3 separate regions of the Homo sapiens genome follow, and all the other regions are linked to region 3. The links are contacts of gene promoters, found by promoter capture Hi-C in human tissues and cell types (Jung and others, 2019). All regions are on one chromosome and are shown on one strand. The core of a region is centred on a gene start or on the middle of the fragment in contact, and the rest is flanking DNA. Distances in the headings are between cores, read along the strand shown. Region 1 overlaps DOP1A (DOP1 leucine zipper like protein A). Region 2 overlaps UBE3D (ubiquitin protein ligase E3D). Region 3 holds the start of TPBG (trophoblast glycoprotein).

Region 1 (3,898 bases), core at 134-2,633, 720 kb before region 3:
GGATTTTCGATTCATGGGTCAGCCTTACTTCAAGGTTCAATCAGGAACCCTCCTCTCTTCTTTCCCTTTAGGTTATCTCCTATAGTCCTATAGCTCCAATAGCATCTGTTAACTGATGTGTCCTAAATCTATACCTGCCACTTTTCCTCTTCTATTATTCTAACCAGTTATAGCCCACTCCAGCACACCACTGATTCCTGCTTCTATTCTTGAGAGTCTGCATAATTCATCCTCCACAGAGAAGCCAGAGACACATTATGTCATTCCTTTGCCTAAAACCTGTCAATGGCGATAGAGCGAGACTCTGTCTCAAAATAACATAACATAACATAACATAACATAACATAACATAACATAACATAACATAACATAAAATACCGCAAAAAACCCATCAATGGTTTTCCTCAAAGCTTGTCCTGGTCACCTTCTAGTCTTAATTATTCTCTAAGGATAAGACCTCTTCTGATACAGCAGAAACAGCAACATCTTAGCTATACCCTAAATACAAATATTCCAATACAAAGCTTAGAATAATATCCAAACTCAAATACACCAATTTTTTTTGCATTCTAGGCATTTTGTTCTTGCTATTCTCTACATTTAAAATCTCTTTGGTCAACTCTATGTGACAGATTTCTTCCCGTCCTCCAGTAATATCAAACCCTACCAAAAGTTCTTTCTGATCAGTCTAAGTAGCCTGCCTGGGGCCAAACTCTTACCACATACCCTATAACATCACATTATTTCCTTATTAGCATTTGTTACACTTTGAAATTTTCCTATTTATTTGCTTGTTTCCTGTCTATCATCTCTCAATGGGATGCAAATACTATGAAGTCAATAGCCTTATCTTAGTTGTTCATACCTGCATCGGCAGTCCCATAATAGTGGCTGATAAACAGTAGGGCCTCAAATATAATCTGAATAAATGAACTAATCTATCAACGACAATATAGTTAAACCATTTTCGTTTGTTTTTTCTGAGAAAAGCTTTGTAGAAGAAAAATAAAAAGCAGAACTACAGTTCTATTTCTTAACTAGTATAGTCACACTTGACCTTACTCTCCTCAAATACAGAATACATTCACATGGCTATTAAGTGCTTTAAAAAACAGATTGCCTAAGAACATTTATAAAAATGTGTACATTCCAGTTACACTTTTAAAAAACTGGCTCAGTTTAATCTGTATTAAACATAACTATCTAAATGTGAAGGAAGTCATTCCAGCCCTGTGAAAGGAGATTTAAAAAATCCTATTTAGGCTGGGTGCAGTGGCTCATGCTTGTAATCCCAGCACTTTGGGAGGCCAAGGCAGGCAGATCACTTGAGGCCAGGAGTTCGAGACCAGCCTGGCCAACATGGTGAAACCATCTCTACTAAAAAAAAAAAAAAATACAAAAATTAGCCAGGTGTGGTGGTGCGTGCCTGTAATCCCAGCCTCTTGGGTGGCTGAGGCACAAGAATCGCTTGAACCCAGGAGGTAGAGGCTGCAGTGAGCCAAAATGGTGCCACTGTACTCCAGCCTGGGCTACAAAGCAAGACTCTGTCTCAAAAAAAACAAAACAAAACAAAAAAAACAAACTACTTAGGTATGATACTCCCAGACGTCGAAGTCAAATCTTTTCAAATTAATTAGCTGCAAATCTCAAGCTGGAGAAAAATTTGGAAAAAGTTTTATTATACTTTATGTACTTATTTATAGTCATGCATTGCTTGATGGGAATATGTTCTGAGATGTGTTGTTGGGTGATTTAGTTATTGTGTGAACATTCATAGAACATGCTTAAACAGACATAATGGTAAACCCTACTACACATCCTGGCTATATGGTATAACCTATTGCTCCTAGGCTGCAAACCTGTACAGCATGTTATATATTGAATACTGTAGGTAACTGTAACACAACAGTAAGTATTTGTGTACCTAAAAATAGAAAAGTACAGTAAAATACAGTATTAAAACCTTACGGGACCACTGTTACATAGGTGGGCCATCATTGAAATGTTATACAGCATATGACTATTTATATTTTCACTTTAGGTCTCAGAAAAGCTATACGAATAAAAACCTAAGACACAAGAGGTTTAAAAGCCCATAGATCTGCCAAGGTGACAGTGAAGCTGATTTAACTTTACGATTTCTTTTTTTACCAAGTAAATATACACAAAATTATATACGTTATTAAAAATTGTCTCTGAATGCTATAAAATCAGATTCTTTCTCATTTCAAATTCTGTGATTTCTGGTACACATAGCAATATGAAAATATTAATTTTAGAAAATACAAAACATAAGCACCATTTATAACTTGGAATGAGCCATTAGCAGGTAGGTGGGATTCTACTTTAAGCTTCAAATGGCAAACAGCCATAATAATAAACACTTAAGCACATACCCTTGAGTTACAAAGGATCATCCTGTCTCCAAAGCATAGTAGCCAAATAAACATTGTCCACGTATTACTCAAGATGATGATAATAATCACAGTTGATACTGACTTACAAATTACTCTGTGCCAGGCACTATACTAAGCCCTTTCATGTGAATTATCTCATGTATCTTCACAATACATCCATGAGGTAGATATACACATGAATCCATGTTCATATAAGGCAATTAGTGTTCAAGGTGCCACAGAGAATAAAAGGAAGAACCAGGAAGAACTCTGGCAGACTGACTCCTGGAATTGGCCCTTAATCAGTATCTTTCTGAACTTTTTTTTTTTTTTTTAAACCACAAGTCTTAATTCTCCTGCATGACATATTCTACCTCTCCTCTCTCATTAACTTTTTTCAAAAAACTTTTCCGGCTATATAGATTTCTTTCTTAGAAATTGTACTTAAAAAAAAACTATAATAATGTAAATACATATGTTATTCTTCCTAGACCTTGAATGAAGCACAGGGACCAAAGCTCAACTCAAAATACCCCAAGTGGTTCACCACTCAATACTGATAGTGTTTAAAATATAAGGCAAAAATGATCATGATTCTGATACAGAAGTTTTTATTTTTGGTTGTTATCTATAAAAGAGTGGGTTTTTGGCCAGGCATGGTGGCTCATGCCTGTAATCCCAGCACTTCAGGAGGCTGAGGCGGGTGGATCACCTGAGGTCAGGAGTTTGAGACCAGCCTGGCCAACATGGTGAAATCCCATCTCTAATAAAAATACAAAAATTAGCTGGGCGTGGTGGCAGGCACCTGTAATCCCAGCTACTTGGGAGGCTGAGGCAGAAGAATTGCTTGAACCCAGGAGGCAGAGGGTGCAGTGAGTGGAGACCGCACCACTGCACTCCAGCCTGGGTGACAGAGCAAAACTCGGTCTCAAAAAAAAAAAAAAAGTGGGTTTAAAAAAGAGACATGTAGCTTATTTCAAATTGACAGATAAAATTGTATTATGTACAATATAATGTTTTGAAGTATATACACACTGTGTAATGGTTAAATGTAGCTAATTAACAAATGCATTGCCTCAAATAGTTGTCATTTTTGTGGTAAGAACACTTACTACTCTTTGTATTTTTCAAGAACATATCATCATTAACCATAGCCACTATGCTGTACAACAGATTCCTTGAACTTACTCCTCCTAACTATATATCCTTTGACTAACATTCTTCCATCCTGTCATTTCCTCAAACCACCCCAGCCGCTGGTAAGCACCATTCTATTCTCTACTTCTATGGGATATACTTTTTAGGTTTTACATATTGGGTGAGATCATGCAGCATTTATCTTTCTGTGCTTTGCTTATTTCACTTAACACAGTGTCCTCTAGGTTCATCCATGTTATTGCAAAGAACAGAATTTTGCTTTTTGATAGGTGAATAGCATTCCATCATGTATATAAACCATATTTTCTTTGCCCCTTCATCTGCTGATAGACCCCTAGGCTGAT
Region 2 (3,714 bases), core at 350-2,849, 680 kb before region 3:
TAAATCTAAAGTTATTCCAAAATGAAAAGTTTACTAAAATATAGTAATAGAAGAAATTATAGAAGAAAGTTGTTAGGTGATCTGACCATTAAGACACGTAAACCAAAATAAAAGGCAGTAACACCAAAAAAATTTGTAACAGATTAATAAGCATGAGGCTAATACTCTTAATATAGAACACATTTTTACAAATTAATAAGAACATAATAATACCACCCTGGAAAATAGTCACTAATCACAATTCACAGAAGAAACACAGTAGACTATAAGTAGCAAAACTAGATGAATCTCACCAGTAATTTAAGAGTTGCCAGTTAAAGCAGCATTGAAAATACTTTTACCTATTACTAATGCAGAAATGGAAAAATGATAGTATTCATTTATGAAAAGGGTGAGTGGAAGAATTATAGATTGGCACAGCCTTTCTGAAAAGAAATTCACCAAATAGGTGTTGGGTTTTAAAATATGCATATAGTTTGTGCTTATCATCTCACACTTATATAGGATTCTTTCCAAGGAAAATAGATATGTTCATAAATATTCTAACAGGAACATTCATCACAGAGTTATTGATAATGAAAAACTCAAAACCTAAATATCTAACAGTTGAGGGAATCATCTCAAAAGTTTTGATGTACTTATGGAATAGAATATTGTGGACTAATTAGGATTCATCTAAATAAAACAACAAAAGCAAGATATAGTATGTTTATTCACGATTCTCAAACTTCGTGTGATATGTACAGATATATCTTTTGAACGGATGGCAAAGAAATACACTGTCATGTTTAGTTACTTATCTCTGGGTAGTGAGATAAAGGATGATTTTTCCTTGTTTATACCTCCTTGCATTTTCAAAATTAGCTGTAGTGAGTATATATTACTTTTATAATTGGGGAAAAAATTAGCATTGCAAACCTTGTGGTTAATGAGTTTCTTTCATCTTTTATGGTCATTTAATTAAGAAAATGTTAGTATCATTTTGTTCTGTGAAAAATGATTTTTCCTCTTTCCACTAGGAAGCTCCTCAGGGTGCTCCCACTGCCGAGTGAGAACTGGGGAGCTCTAGTTGGAGAATGGTGTTGTCATCCTGACCCCTTTGCTAATAAATCACTTCATCCGCAAGAGAATGACTGTTTTATTGGAGACTCTTTCTTCTTGGTGAATTTAAGAACCAGTTTGTGGCAGCAAAGACCTGAACTATCCCCAGTGGAGATGTGCTGTGTTTCTTCTGACAACCATTGTAAATTGGTAAAATATCATTTCAAAATAAATGGTAATTTAGAGGCTGTCTTAGATACTGACTTCTTCAATCTTTTCCTAATTAAGGGCTTGTTACATAGACTGCTGTAAAGGCCAAAATTCATTATTTTCAACTGTCATCGCTATCGTTGCTTTATCAAAACAGGAAGAGCATATGGCTTTAAACTAAAACAGCCACAGGCGCCTGGAAGAATAAGGAGAGGAAGACCTCTGCAGGCTTAGAATTGCGAGTGCTACCATTTTACAAACAAAATGTCTTGCTTTCTTGTTCTTAGGACAATATTGCATAATTTGTGTGCATTTTATCCTAAATAGTCTGATTTAGGTTAAAAGTGTTGTCTTGCTCCAGGATATCTACTATACTATTAGGCTGAGGTATTTTACTATTTCTGCCCATAGTCTAGACTTCTGCTGAAGTCATAAATGGAGATGTCATCAAGTAAAAAGAGGAATGGAGGAGCCCAGGAATGGAGATAAAGCTTGTGTTTCAGGGTCTGAGTTGGTGCTTGACAGTGTGAGGTCAGGTGGCTCTTGCTGCATAAGTTGCTTTGGGAAGAAGGCAATTTTCTCTCACTGCAGAGAACAAGTGTTTTACTTTATTTTAAAAGAAAATCAATGGCATTGGCTTGGCCCATGTGAGAAAGCATTCCACTGATGGCCAGTCAATACAGATATTATTTAAAAAGTAAAATCATTCCCAGAGAATCATTTTAACATCTGATTATTGGTGGGAACTAAAACATTGTATTTTAAATTTCATTCAGAACTCATTTAATTTTTGTAATAATAACTGAGCGACTGCAGGAAATATGCAGTAGGTGGGCAGCTCTTAGGTTGTAAATTAGTTTATAGAACTATTCTGAGGGAGATGAAGGAAATTCGTCAAATGTGGAGGTTAAGTTGTTGTCAGATAAAGTTATTTAAGTGCCTCATTTTACACTGTAAACAGAAATCCCTTTATCTAAATATGGTTCACTTTGGTGAAATGTAGTACTTTACATTTTATATTTTAAAAGGTAAATAGTAAGTTAATATATATTTGTTATATTTAATATGATTAATTAAATTTGTATTTTAATCTAAATATATACTAATACTTTATATGTGTTTTAAATTTCATCTTTATGATTAAGCTATACATTTCAAAAACATTTGGAAGTTGTGAGCAGAAAAGTAGTAGAGAAAGATTGAATCAGAGAAACCATGTTTCCCTTTTTAAATAAACTCAGCACTCTGTGCTGAAATATATTCATCACATTTACATCTTTATCAGTTATGTGATGCCATTTACAAGAATTTCTCTTCATAGTAAACAGCTATCTTATCCATTAAAGAAAGACCCATCATATTTTTAGACATTACAGTTTTAGTATCAAGGAGACTGTGGGAAATTCTGTACTATCAAGACAAGATGCTGTTGAAAAGATTTTCTTCAAGTTAGCCTAGATGAAAGTCCCTCTTTAATTGTATATTGTAGCAGTCCAAAGAGTGTGCCTGTGACCAAAATAGAAACATAAATTTGGAGGGACTGCGTAAACAGCGCTCTCAAGGCTCCTGTGGGAACAAGGCTGTTCTGTGCTATTGAAAACCTATTTCTCCTATCACCCAGTCTAGCCATCTAGCAGGGTTTTGAAATGTCACATAGTAACAAAGCATCCTAATGGTATCTCTTGGGAAACATTTTTTTGATGAGACAATATCAAGGGTCCTTAGAAATTGAAACGACACAAAGGGAAAATAAAAGGGAGGACACGAGGCTAATCCACCTCTCTGAGCAGCCCTGTGGTGTCTCAGATATATTGACTTAATTAGTGCACAACAATGTCTGTCTTTGAGGTTTGCTCTGTAGAGTTCCCACACTGTTAGGCTGCTTCATTACACAACTTGCCTTATTATTTCCTTGAAGGATAGGTGAAGAAAAATGCATTACAAAGCAGAGATTCTCTTTAAATGAAATTTATGTGCTATAATATGTTTAATTAAAAAGATCTGCTTTTAAAAACAGCACAAACAAACATGAAGCCCAACACTTTCTTTTCTTCCATAGCCTTTTAGAGTTTATAATACTTTATTGGAGGCTTTGTTATTGCAGCAGTATCTACTTATTTTTAAAAGATACCTGCTGAAGATTTCCCTATTGGTGTATTCATTTATCACCTCTCTTGTGCTATTTTGTGCCTGCCCACATAATACAAATTTTGCATCTTGGGCCGGGCGCAGTGGCTCATGCCTGTAATCCCAGCACTTTGGGAGGTTGAGGCGGGTGGATCATGAGGTCAGGAGATTGAGACCATCCTGGCCAACATGGTGAAACCCTGTCTCTCCTAAACTACAAAAAATTAGCCGGGTGTGGTGGCGGGGGCCTGTAGTCCCAGCTACTCAGGAGGCTGAGGCAGGAGAATCGTTTGAACCTGGGAGGCAGAGGTTGCAGTGAGCCAAGATTGCACCACT
Region 3 (3,877 bases), core at 362-2,861:
CGGCCAGTGGGTTGTGGCTGAGGTCGAGCTGGCGCAGGCTGGGCAGATGCTCGAAGGCGCCCGCGCGCACCTCGTCCAGGCGGCTGCCGCTGAGGTTGAGCGCGGCCAGCTCCGCCAGCGGCGGCCGGCGGGCGAAGGCGCCGGCAGGGAGCACGGCCAGCTGGTTGCCGGTAAGGAAGAGGTTGCGCACGTAGGCGGGCAGGTCCGTGGGCACCTCGGTCAGATTGCGGTTAACGCACTTGACTGTGCGCGCTGCCTCGGAGCACTCGCACAGCGCGGGGCACTGGTCCGGCAGCGGGGGCTGGGCGGACACGGCGGAAGCCAGGAACGGCGCCGAGGAGGAGAAGGAGGATGCCGAGGAGGTGGGAGAAGACGAGGAGACCCAGCCCAGGAGTACCAGCGCTAGTCGCGCCAGCCGCAGACGCCCGTCCCCGGCGGCGGGGCCCCGGGAGCACCCCCCAGGCATCGCGGCTCGCGTTTCCCCGGAGCTGGGCTGGGACGGCGCCCGCTCCGAAGGCTCGGGAGGCTGGGCCCGGAGGGCGCGAGCCGGCGGAAGCGTCTGGAAAAAAAAAACTTTCCTCTCGTGGAACCGAGGGAGTGGCGCCGCAGCCGGAACTTGGCTAACCCCCTCGCCACCGGGCGCTTCCCTCAGGGGCCGATTCCCCCGCCCCTTCCCTCCAGAAAGTACGCACGGCGGGTCGGGACGCTCCGCTCCGCGCTCCTGCTCCCGCTCCTCTTCCTGCCGCCGCCCTGGTGCCACCTCTTCGCCTCTTGTTGGCGCCCCTCGCTGGATCCTCTGAGGGACCTGGGACAAGCAGGAGAGAGGCGTGAACAGCGGTGGCTGCCGCGGCTTCCGGAGTGCAAAAACCGGCCTTTTCGAGTCTAGTCGTCTCCAGTCTGTCCCAGAGACCTCCTTCCAAAAGCCCGCCCCGGCCTCGCCTCCCCAACCCCTCCGGTCACTTTTACTCCGGAGGGGGACGCGCATCCGACACCCAGACCGCAAAGTCTTCCTTCTTCCCTGGCCCACACTAAATAAACCCGACCGGCCTCCCGCCCTCCGCCTTTCCCGAGGAGACTCGTCTCCCGCGTCTAACTTACCGCTTAATCCCCAATTCCTTCCCTACCAAACTTCTCCCTCTCCCGTTCCTTCCTGCACCGCCTCGGCGGAAGGTCGGCCTCCGGGTGTCTCCGCCCCCGCCCAGACCTCTCCACCAGGTCCCGGTTAGGATGCGAGGGAAGTTTCAGGTTACAGGACTTTTTGATCTCTTTTTGTACCTTCTCGCATTAGCAGGAAGTGGAGCTACAACTGTCGCCCCCCAGCCCGCGCCCCGCCAGCCCCTCGGATCTCAAAGGGGTTCAAGTCATCTCCAAAGAGGAGGGGAGAGTCTGGGAACAAAGCAGCAGTGGGACTCGGGGTACAGTGGCAACCCGAACCAACCCTACTCTCCACCCGAGGATGGGGAGGGGCCCCAACGACGCCTCCCGGGTCTCTCCCAGGCCGCGGGCTCCCACTGCTCACCTCCGCGTCCGCCGCCTCCAGAACCAACTCTGAGTTCCACCAGAGTAGCGACGACTTCCCGGCTCCGCGTTGCGGGCGCCGACTCTCTTCGCACCCCAGCCCCTGGCCCAACCTCCCAACCTCCGCAGCTGGGAAAAACCAACCCGGGGGGCGGGGGAGGGCCAGGACTGTCGGGGAGATTCCCGACGCGCGGCCAACCTCGGCAGCCGTAGGTAGGGGGATTTAAGAAGAGAGACTAGGGGAGCTGGGCTGCGCGCCTCCTCCTGGTGGAAATTAACGAGGAATGTGCCGGAAAAGGTGAGGGAATCCCTTTCTCTCCCCCCTCCCCGACATCCTTGGGTGGTTCCTCATTTTGCATACTGTATTTACCTTGGACTGGAGCAAAACCGCTGGTGAATCTCGTGGAATTCACCCTGATTCAGGCACCTTTGGCAGTGACGAGATAGATTTAGGCATGACAGAGCAGCGCGAAGCAGCAGCAGAAAGAAATGAGCTGAAAATCTACTGCGGCAGCAGCAAAGGCACGGCAGGTTGTATGGAAGCTTCAGAAGCTCTCCCCATCAAAGTGGTACTTGAGGCCGCAAACTTCAGATTTAGGTGTAATTAATGCCTTCCCGCCTGTCCCCCCCGCCCCCTCACTTCTTGGGTAGTGATGGAACTTGTGAAGAGAGCGCGCCAACTTTAAGAGAGAGAGAGAGAGAAAGAAAAAAAAAAGATTAGTGGAGAGGAGATTCATTCCTGATTCATTAGCTTTTCTCTTACCAAAATTAAAAGCAGATGGAAGAGAAAGGCAGCCAAAGGCATCCCAGAAACAAAAGGCAAATAGCAAAGACTTGAGTCTCCCGGAAAGCGGACCCGCCCCCCTCCCCAGATGTAGCGCGGTGTGTCAAGTCACTTCTGTGGAGAAAGCTCCAAGGATGAGGAGTGGGGATTGCAGGAGCTGACCTGGGAGAGAAGTTTGGTTTCAAAGTCGATTGTCCCAGGGGGCATCTGGCAGATGGTGATGGAGAGGATGGGGTTGGGGAGAGGGACAAATTGAATGGTTGGTTACCGGAAGGATCTGTTATTATACCAGACAGGTTTTGGGTTCTGAAAGCCCTATCGTTGCTCTCTGTAACTCCACATCCCCTTTGTCCCAATTAAATAATTTCCCCGAAGGGATAAGAAGGTTCTTCCAGGCTTCTTCATTTTAGAGAGAAAATGGCAATTAGGGAAAACATGGTTCGGAAATTTAAGACCTGGTCGTATTAAAAAAGATCAAATAAGGATCCTGAGGCTTGTGCCTGGGACATGTGCCTTTAGTGTGAAGAAAGACCCCAACTCTCCAACGGACGCCTGATTACTTTTATAGAAAGAGATAGTCTGCAAAGCCGACAGCAAAAATGGCTCAGACAAAAGCTGAAAACACTGGAAACTGCAGAGATTTGTGCACAAAAGCTGGTTTCATTAATTTGCATCTTCAGCACGTTTATCTACATCTCTTTTCTTATTTTTAAAAGTGTTTTGCAACATGAATGTAAAACACTTTGAAAAAGAATCTCTAAAGCTGTAGTCATGTTCTGTATCCGGATTGTGGTGGTGGTTACATAAACCTATACAACGTGTTATAACTCATAGAACTTTGTAAACCAAAAGAGTCAATTTTACTGTATGATAAGTTTAAAAATAAAATTAATTACTCATTGGAAAAAACCTGTAATAATGCTCTGGCATGGTATTAACTCTGGTCCTGATCTGAAGACCAACTGCTTTGTTAGGAGAGTGAGATACACTTTAGAATTTAGAAACATAATATATATACTCATCTGATTTTCAAGACAACTCAGAGGCAAGATAAATATTGTTAGTATTATTGCTTGTTGCTATTATTGTTGTTGTTCTGTTGTACAAATGAAAAAACTGGGGCTTTAAGTTAGCTTGACTGAGTGTCTTCCACTTGCCAAGCACTGTGCTGATCACAGATATTATCTCATTGACTCTTCACTTCGGTACTCAAGTTAGGTCCTCTCACTCCAGTTTTACAGACAAGAAAATTGACGCAAAAATAAATTACATAACTTGTTCAAATGAGTGATGGAGGTGGGAACCAGGCCCAGATTTGCCTGCCTCCCATATAGTACATCCCACATTCTGCCTCTAGGCAAGATTAAGGAGTTTGTGCAAAGTTCTACTCTGTTCCACTTAGGCAGAACGTAAACCTCACCTCTTGTTCCCTTTTTACTTCTTCTGCCTCCACCTTCCTGCAGCTGGCAATTGCTTATGGCTGCTGAATAGGGACCCAGAAATTTAGGGTCATTTCTAGCTCTGACACTTGCCTGCTGTGTGTCTTCTATAATAGGACCACTAATGAAATTTGAA

What was found. The method cuts DNA at HindIII sites, captures the fragments that hold promoters and counts their contacts. A contact is called where the count stands out against the background at its distance.
Region 1: a contact is called between a fragment that was not itself captured here and the fragment with the promoter of TPBG in region 3, in 2 of the 25 tissues and cell types used here (IMR-90 fibroblasts and neural progenitor cells).
Region 2: a fragment that was not itself captured here is called in contact with the fragment with the promoter of TPBG in region 3 in 3 of the 25 tissues and cell types used here (heart right ventricle, lymphoblastoid cells and neural progenitor cells).

Annotation. Positions count from the first base shown.
Region 1 is chr6:83,082,254-83,086,151 of GRCh38, reverse strand. The region is part of intron 1 of DOP1A (DOP1 leucine zipper like protein A); the gene reads right to left. Among named protein-coding and RNA genes, the nearest start is that of DOP1A, 17 kb to the right of the region's middle. The HindIII fragment of the contact is 4,029 bases long and covers 1-3,397 here.
Region 2 is chr6:83,041,965-83,045,678 of GRCh38, reverse strand. UBE3D (ubiquitin protein ligase E3D) reads left to right here. Exons shown (of 10, transcript NM_198920.3): 4 at 1,020-1,251. Among named protein-coding and RNA genes, the nearest start is that of UBE3D, 22 kb to the left of the region's middle. The HindIII fragment of the contact is 9,560 bases long and covers 1-3,714 here.
Region 3 is chr6:82,361,551-82,365,427 of GRCh38, reverse strand. It overlaps TPBG (trophoblast glycoprotein), which reads right to left and starts at 1,611. Exons shown (of 2, transcript NM_001376922.1): 1 at 1,520-1,611; 2 at 1-805. The coding sequence starts at 466. LOC105377875 (a long non-coding RNA gene) reads left to right here and starts at 1,771. Exons shown (of 3, transcript XR_942738.4): 1 at 1,771-1,816. RefSeq lists enhancers at 1-98, 99-1,001, 1,153-1,664, 1,665-2,178 and a silencer at 51-130. The HindIII fragment of the contact is 6,837 bases long and covers 607-3,877 here.